Regions from separate parts of the Homo sapiens genome. Here region 2 is linked to region 1. Evidence: promoter capture Hi-C in human tissues and cell types (Jung and others, 2019). All regions are on one chromosome and are shown on one strand. Each heading gives the region's core, a stretch centred on a gene start or on the middle of the fragment in contact. The rest is flanking DNA. Distances are from core to core; before and after follow the strand shown.

Region 1 (3,862 bases), core at 520-3,019:
TATGGCTTTCTTATAACTAGGAATAAGAAACAGGAAGATTTCAACAAAAAATAAACTTAAAAATACTGAAACGAATTTGACTGTCTGTGTTGTTTCAGAAGGCTGAATAAGCACCAAAAAGAAGTTATAGGAATGTAGACCGTAGATGTCAGCTCAAAACGAAACAAACCCCTGATCCGAACAACCTAACAGCACTGGTTTGAATACTGAAACAGCTGTCAGGACCACTTGCGTGGAATGTCCTAGAGGCAACTGGAGCACCGGAGGGAAGGTTAATTACTTGATACTCTAATATGCCTTTCAACACGGATTCCACAAACACGACAATGCTGATTTTTGTCCTTTTTTTTTTTTTTCCTGAGACAGGATCAGCCTCTCACCCAGGCTGGAGTGCCGTGGTGTGATCTCGCCCCACTGCACTCTCGACCTCCTGGGCAATCCTTCCGCTTCAGCCTCCCGAGAAGCTCGGACCACAGGCGCAAGACACCACACCGGGCTTTTTTTTTTTTTTTTTTTGGTAGAGACAGGGTCTCACGATGTTGCCCAGGCTGGTCTCGAACTCCTGAGCTAAAATGAGGCCTGCCTTGGCCTCCCAAAGTGCTGGGATTACAGGCATGAGCCACAGCGCCTGGCCGACAAAGCTCATCTTACTGCATTTGAGAAGCCAGGTAGTCAAGGTCAGGCTTTCCTGTCCCTGCTTTCTCCCTCTCCTATGTGAGCCAGCCCTTAAAGAGTGAAAACGGCAAGAGCCAAAGACGGGTTTTCCTCCTAGGGTCTCCTAGCGACCCGCTGCCCAGATACATTTGGATGATTGTCCTGCAGAAGGCCAAAGCCCTCCATTATGAAAACGAAGCGTTCGGCCGGGGGCGGTGGCTCACGCCTGTAATCCCAGAACTTTGGGAGACCGAGGCGGGCGGATCACCTGAGGTCAGGAGTTCGAGACCAGCCTGGCCAACATGGTGAAACTTCGTCTCTACTAAAAGTACAAAAATTAGCCGGGCGTGGTGGCGGGCGCCTGTAATCCCAGATACTCAGGAGGCTGAGGCAGGGGAATCGCTTGAACCCGGGAGACGGAGGTTGCAGTGAGCCGAAATAGGGCCATTGCACTCCATCCTGGGCGATAGAGTGAGACCCTGTCTCCAAAAAAAAAAAAAAAGAAAGAAAGAAAACGAAGCGTTCTATCCTGGAATGTTCTCCCATGGCAAGAAGGAACAGAGAAGCAGGAGACAGAGATACTTTGAAAGGAGGTGCGCTCTGAGGAGGGGAAAGCGGGAAGAGCGATTCCAAGTTTAGGAAATCCTGCACGGCGCTGGAGCGTGGAAGGGCAAGGAGGAGCCAGGGGAGGCGGTGTGCAGGGCTGAGAACGGAGGGAGCGAACTGGCGTCGTGGATCTGCGGGTCCCCGGGCGGGCTGTACTAGGGTAGTGGGGAGAGGGCCGGGGGCACCGCGAGGCCGGGGCGCCGGACACCACGCATGCGCGGGGCTGGGAGCTTAGCGGGGCGCGCGGCTGCAGCAGTCTGGGCAGACCGCCTCGGCCTCGCCCGGTGCCGGCTGCGGCCGCCCCCGCCCCAGCGCGGCGGCCGGGCTCACACTAGTCCCCTCCCAGCCACCCGGAACCCGGCAGCCCGGCCAGACCCGCCGAGGCCGCGACGCCGGTGTCGACAGCGGCTGCGACGGCCCTGGGAGCGCGTGAGGCTCCGGGGTCGCGGCGGCGATTGGCCGGCCGCGGCGCCCGCTCCCAGAATGCAGCGCATGGCGCGTCATTGAAGAGAGACCATGATGGCGGCGGCGCTGGGGCCCCCAGAAGTGATCGCTCAGCTGGAGAACGCGGCTAAAGTTCTGATGGTGAGGACGCCGCGCCCCTCAGACCCCGGGATTCGCGGGCCCCCGGTCGGCCCTGCCACTCCAGGCCTTGCTGCTCGCTGGGCTGGCGACTGGCAAGGGCCTGCAGGGAGCCTGGAAGTGGAGGAGGAGGTGGCGGTGGCGTGGCGCAGGATTCTTCAGCCTACTTTCCTCCTGCCGTCGTCCCCTCCTTCCAGGAGCTGTCCCCTTCCCCTGGCTGCCCAGCACCCCAGTCGGGCGTGGGAATATAGTGGTGTAGCAAAGAGAATTTCTTCACCTTACACCCTGCCCCACAGACTGGGTCGCAGAGCAAGGCGCCGGGAAGGAGTTGGGGTTATCCCCGCAGGGCTTCGGTAGGGGAAATTTGTAGGGCTGTGTGAGCGCTCTTGGGGAGTTGGTGTCGGGAGGGATTGGATGGCACAGCCTGGGTGCTGTTAGCAACCCTTGTTTCCTGTGCATTCGCATCCTCTAGCGCTTCCCTGACATGCAGCCACCTCTGGAGTAATTGCAGCCGGCAGCACGTGGAAGGGCCGGGCCGGCTGGAGGGAGGGAGGGGAATCGTTGAGACCAAGGTCATTGGGGCAAAACTTGGTCTAGTGCTAAGCTCCTTAAAGCTCCCGCGATTTGGAGAACTGAGTCTATGCTACTCTTTGACTTCATGCTTACACTACAATAAGCAGTTTGATGAGATTGTTTACTAAGGGAATTTGAGAAGGCCGAGTCAAAGGATAAAAGTATTACATGCAAGGAGGAGAAGTAAGGATAAACTACGTTCAGTTAGTAAACAGTGTTTCTATTTGCTGGCTCAGCTTTGTTTTTGCAAATTATGACTTCGGTGTTTGTAGATGTTTTGGGAAGTTAGAGGTTCATTTGATACCTGGATTGATTCAGACTTTCTAAGAATTGGATACAGCCAGCTTTGTTACCTTTTTGGACTTTTTTCCTTTTGGTTTGGTGTTAGGGTGTTTGAGCATCACATTTGAGAATATTCGAACTAATTCTAGCGTAGTTTGTAGTTCTAATATTTTACACCAGATATTTTTGTTTCTTTAGAAATCGAGAAGTCTAATAAAAGCAGGATTTACTTGCTTCATTATGAATATTAACTTAATGTACGTTTTGTCACAAAACAGACTAGTGAAGGTTTTCACACTTTTGCAAATTAAGCAGAAGTAACTAGCTAGTATTCCCCTTAATAAAAGATTCTTAAAAATCCCTGACATAGAGCGTTTTGTAAAATTCCTGAAATTTTCCTAGGAGCTAGGGGCTCCGTTTTCATTGGATTCTGGAAGGAGTATGCCACCCAAAACACGGCTGTAGTTCTTACACTGATCAGGTAAAATCAGTGTCCTTCGTCACTGGCTTAATATAAACTAGTATTTGTGTTTTCCAATATCTTCCCTCTTCCCTGGCAAAGCTGCTTTTATCCCCTATAAGGAGTAGGTGAGAAGAATAGTAGTAAGTACCGTTTATTGAGTGCTAGATATTGGGCTTGATGCTTTACATACTTTACATATTTTATTAATTCTTGCAACAGCTTTGCTTTACAAGGTTGAGAAACTGTAAGTGGCCCGGGTTACACGATTACTAAATGGCTGAATTAGGTCTTGAACTCAGTTCTGTCTGGCTCTAAAGCTGTGTGTCTTTCCACTCTACCCCATCTGTCATATGTTGTATAAATAATTTGTCTAAATGCTTTTTATCTTTTCAGAGGAGAGTAGTATTGAAAAAAGTGTCATGTTATTAAAAACAGGAAATTACAGCCGGGTGCGGTGGCTCATTCCTGTAATCCCAGCACTTTGGGAGGCCGAGGTGGGCGGATCACTAAAGATTAGGAGCCCAAGACCAGGCTGGCCAACACGGTGAAGCCCCATCTCTACTAAAAATATAAAAATTAGCCGGGCGTGATGGCTGGCACCTTTAATCTCAGCTACTCTGGAGGCGAAGACAGGAGAATCGCTTGAACCAGGAGGCAGAGGTTGGAGTGAGCCGAGATCGTGCTGCTGCACTCCAGTCTGGG
Region 2 (3,862 bases), core at 608-3,107, 420 kb before region 1:
GTCCATCTGCACAAAGCTGGCGCTTCCACCCTGTACAACATGGTGTGTTTCCAGTGGGCTGTGACTCTCTGGTGGTGGAACCAGCCTTGTCAATTGCTGTCTGCCACATCCAGTCTGACCTGGCTGCCTGGGCATTCTCCCACGCCACGGGCAGCAGTGGTTCTTGCTGCCAGGGCTCCAGGGCATGGGCAGCAGATGGGAGGGAAGGAAGGCCAGCTGTGCAGCTCTGCCAAGCTGAGAGGCGGGGTGCCTATTGATTGACTGAAATTCGATTTGTTGACACAAACTGCCAGCATTTCACAGTGATGAAAGGATGGCCCACCAACCTCATAACAAGCAGAGATTTCCCTGAGGGTCACCAGAGCTGCTGATGTGGCTCCTCTGTGAGGAGAAGAAAGCAATTAGGAGAATGGATGAGGTTATTAGGTCTTATTGCTTCCCTCAGCTCCTGCACACACTGAGTGCTGTGCGGCGTGGGATTTCAGGCTCCCTGTCCTACGTGCTGCGGATTCTGTTTGCGCCTCTTCCACTGCAAAAAGCCAGCTGGGGGACAAACAGCTCATGTACGCTGACTCCAAGCATGTGGAGAATGCACACACAGATTTAGGACACCAAAAGAAACCTGCAGGTGGAACCAGCTTTAGCAGACTTTAAAAATAACAAGATCATTGGAGTATAAATACAAATCCATGAATGCATGAGGCACACCCGTCTCTCCCTCGCTTTCTCCATCCCTTTTTATGTTTTGTCACATTACAAATATTTAGACTGGTTTGATTTAAAAGATCTATTCAGGTAAGCTGGCCAACTACACGTCTATGCAGATGGGCAGGGGAGGAAGAGGAGAGGAGGGTATGTTCTGTGAGGACAGCATTGGTTTAGCAAGTGTTTATCAAAATCTGGAATATGCACAGCAGTAGGGGTGGGTGTATGAGGGGGAGAGGTAAGAAAATATCAGGAATAATGTCACCTTATATTGTATAAGTGGGTTTTTGCAGCAAAATATACATAACATAAAATTTACCATTTAACCATTTTAAGTGCACAGTTCAAGAACATTAAGTACTTTCACATTATGTATGGCACAGCCATCACCACCATCCACACCATCCATCTTCAGAACATTTTTATCTTCCCCAACTGAAACTCTGCCCTCATTAAACAATATCTCCCTATTCCCCACTGCCCCCAGCTCCCGACAACCAACATTCTACTTTCTGTCTCTATGAATTTCACTACTTTAGGTGCCTCATATAAGTGAAATCACGAAGCATTTGTCCTTTTTTTTTTTGCTGGGCACATGTGTCTAGTGTTATGAGAGGAGTTGGGAATGTTTGAGGGTTGGCCAGGGATGCCCCACCCCCTCCTAGGGGCTGGGCTCGGGCGTTTCTGAAACGTCCCTGAAAGCATCAGGGACCAGGCCCTGGGAGCTGGAAGGTAGAGGCAGACCTATCTGGGCCGGCCGGGGCAGTGGGCTGATGGGTCTCACAGCCGGCCCAATCTCTGGCCACTTTGGCACAGGCCTAGGGGATATACAGGCCCCAGATCCAGCTCTGACAAGTACTGAGAAGGGACAGCTTTAGTCCCCAGAGGGCAGAAGCCTGAGTCCAGGGCAGCAGGGGCAGGCACAAGTCTTACTCAGAGGCTAGGGGTGGTCAGCACCGTGCTGAAGGCTCAGGGGTGTGATCCTCAGCCATCCAAGCTGGGTCGGAGGAGCCTTAAGTTTGGCAGTGGCTCCTCTGCCAGCTCCCGCTCTCCCAGCCAGGGCTGGCTGCCCCCAGGAGCCAAGGAGGGGGCGCCAGGTCTGTGGCAGGAACTAAGAATGCCCTGGTCACTATATACATTGGTACAAATACATAAATACAGAAAGCCCCGAGCTCCACGGAGAAGAGCTGAAGGGACGCACCTTTGTCCCAGGGATGGCCCAGGCCCTGCCAAACTCAGGCAGGCCAGGGGCTGAGGGGGCAGAGGACACTGGGGACAGTTCCGTCTGTGTTCCCCAGGCCACAACTTGAGTGGACAATGGGGAAGTCCACTGTGCAAAACTGTAAAAGGCACTCGGAGTAGCTACTACCGCCCACTGCCCGTGGGGGCCTCTGGCTGGGGGCTAGAGGCGGGTAGGGAGCTCTTCCTCGCTGTCCCCGCAGTTTCCACAGCAATCCTTTGGCGACTGAAGAGTCTCTGCAGCAGTCCCTTGCAGGTGGCTGGCCCTTCCAGTCCAGGTCTGGGGGAACTGAGCCATCCAGCCCAAAGACATTCAGCTCCTGGAAGCACTCAGTCTCCACCATCCCCTTCTGCCAGGGGATGGGCACACTGCCTGTGGCAAACTTCTGGTAGAAGTCTTGGTCGGTAGCCTCCAGCTCCACACCCTTGACCCTAGAGAACTGTTTAATGTCCAGAATATCCTTGCAGTAAATGGCCCGAGGGTCAGGCTTGAAGGGCGGCTCCAGCATGCCGGCTCCCACCCGCTTGAAGTTCAGCTTCTTCAACAGGGGGTGCTCCTTCACTTCGCGGGCACTGCCCCCACGACACCCCAGGCGTTCAGCGGGGTCCTTGCAGAGGAGCTGTGAGCAGGCCTGCGGGGAAAAGCGCTCGGAATACTCCTCGGGGTCCTCCTTCACCAGCCGCTCCACCTCCTCCCGCTTGATCATCTTCTTCCTCTGCTGGAAGAGCGACTGGCCTGCAATCATCTCCTGCGGGAGGCAGCCTAGCGCCCAACAGTCAGAGCTGAAAGTGTACGGTTCATTCTTCACCACCTCTGGAGCCATGTAGCTCACGGTGCCCACACGGCCTTTGATGGTCTGGCCCTCGGGCACGTGCACAGCCAGTCCCAGGTCGGAGACGAGGATGTGGCCGTGGTCATCCAGCAAGATGTTCCTGGCTTCAGGTCCCTGTACACTATGCGCTCCCGGTGCAGGTCCTCCAGACCGCAAGCAGATCTCGGGACGTAGAAGACGGCCTGCGCTTCGGGGAAGCCAGCCCGGCCCATGTGGCAGATGTGGAAATTGAGGTCGCCCCCGTTCATCAGCGTCAGCACCAGGCACAGCGCCTCCTTGGTCTCACAGGTGTAGGCCAAGCTCACTATAAACCTACTGTTCACTCTCTCCAGGATCTGCTTCTCGTTCAGCGCCATGGCCTCCCCTTTCTGCTTCTTGATCCGCTTTTTTTCTAGCTTCTTGAAGGCGTACATCTTGCCTGTGGCCCGCACCTGGCAGGCGCACACCTCCCCAAAGCCACCTTTGCCCAGGACTCGGTACTGCCTGAAGGTATTTTTGGTCACTGGCTGCCTTTCCAGCCACTTCCACTGCAGGAAACGGTTGAAGTAGATGCTGTTGAGGTAGTCGGCAAAAGGGGCCATGCTCAGGTACCCGTGGGTCACCCGGGTGAGTTCCTGGGAGAGTTCTTTGCAGGGCCCCTGCTCCAGCCGCTGGGTGCAGTTCGTCACCAGCTGCCGGGGGGACCTCAGGGATGAGGTCAGGAACCTGTGGCTCAAGAAAATTCTGCATTAGCCGCCGCCCACATGCCTTCCGCTTCTCATCCGGGGTCGCTTCATACTCGGCCATCCCATCCTGGAAGGCGATGCAACGGCTCAGCTCCGGCCTGGTGGCACAGAACTCTCAGAACAGCAGGCGCCCGATGGGCTGCCGCTCGCACAGGCTGTGATAGTCACGTTCGAGACTGAGCCGCAGCTCTTCGCACTGGCTGATGTGGGGGAACTGGAGCATCTGCCGCCATTTCTTGCTTTTGCCTTTGCGATTTCCACCGCTACCTTCCCGGGCCTTGAGGAGCACCGTGTCCGCTACGATGTTCTCGAGCTCCATGGGCCGCGCTGCCGGCCGGGATCGCGCGCGAGTGCCCAGGC

What was found. The method cuts DNA at HindIII sites, captures the fragments that hold promoters and counts their contacts. A contact is called where the count stands out against the background at its distance.
Region 2: a fragment that was not itself captured here is called in contact with the fragment with the promoter of XPO4 in region 1 in 1 of the 25 tissues and cell types used here (lymphoblastoid cells).

What each region holds. Positions count from the first base shown.
Region 1 is chr13:20,900,653-20,904,514 of GRCh38, reverse strand. XPO4 (exportin 4) reads left to right here and starts at 1,769. Exons shown (of 23, transcript NM_022459.5): 1 at 1,769-1,845. The coding sequence starts at 1,777. RefSeq lists a silencer at 1,367-1,746 and an enhancer at 1,957-2,006. The HindIII fragment of the contact is 40,685 bases long and covers 1-3,862 here.
Region 2 is chr13:21,319,115-21,322,976 of GRCh38, reverse strand. The region is part of intron 2 of LINC00539 (long intergenic non-protein coding RNA 539); the gene reads left to right. It also overlaps the pseudogene MIPEPP3 and the pseudogene GRK6P1. Among named protein-coding and RNA genes, the nearest start is that of LINC00539, 24 kb to the left of the region's middle. The HindIII fragment of the contact is 7,902 bases long and covers 1-3,862 here.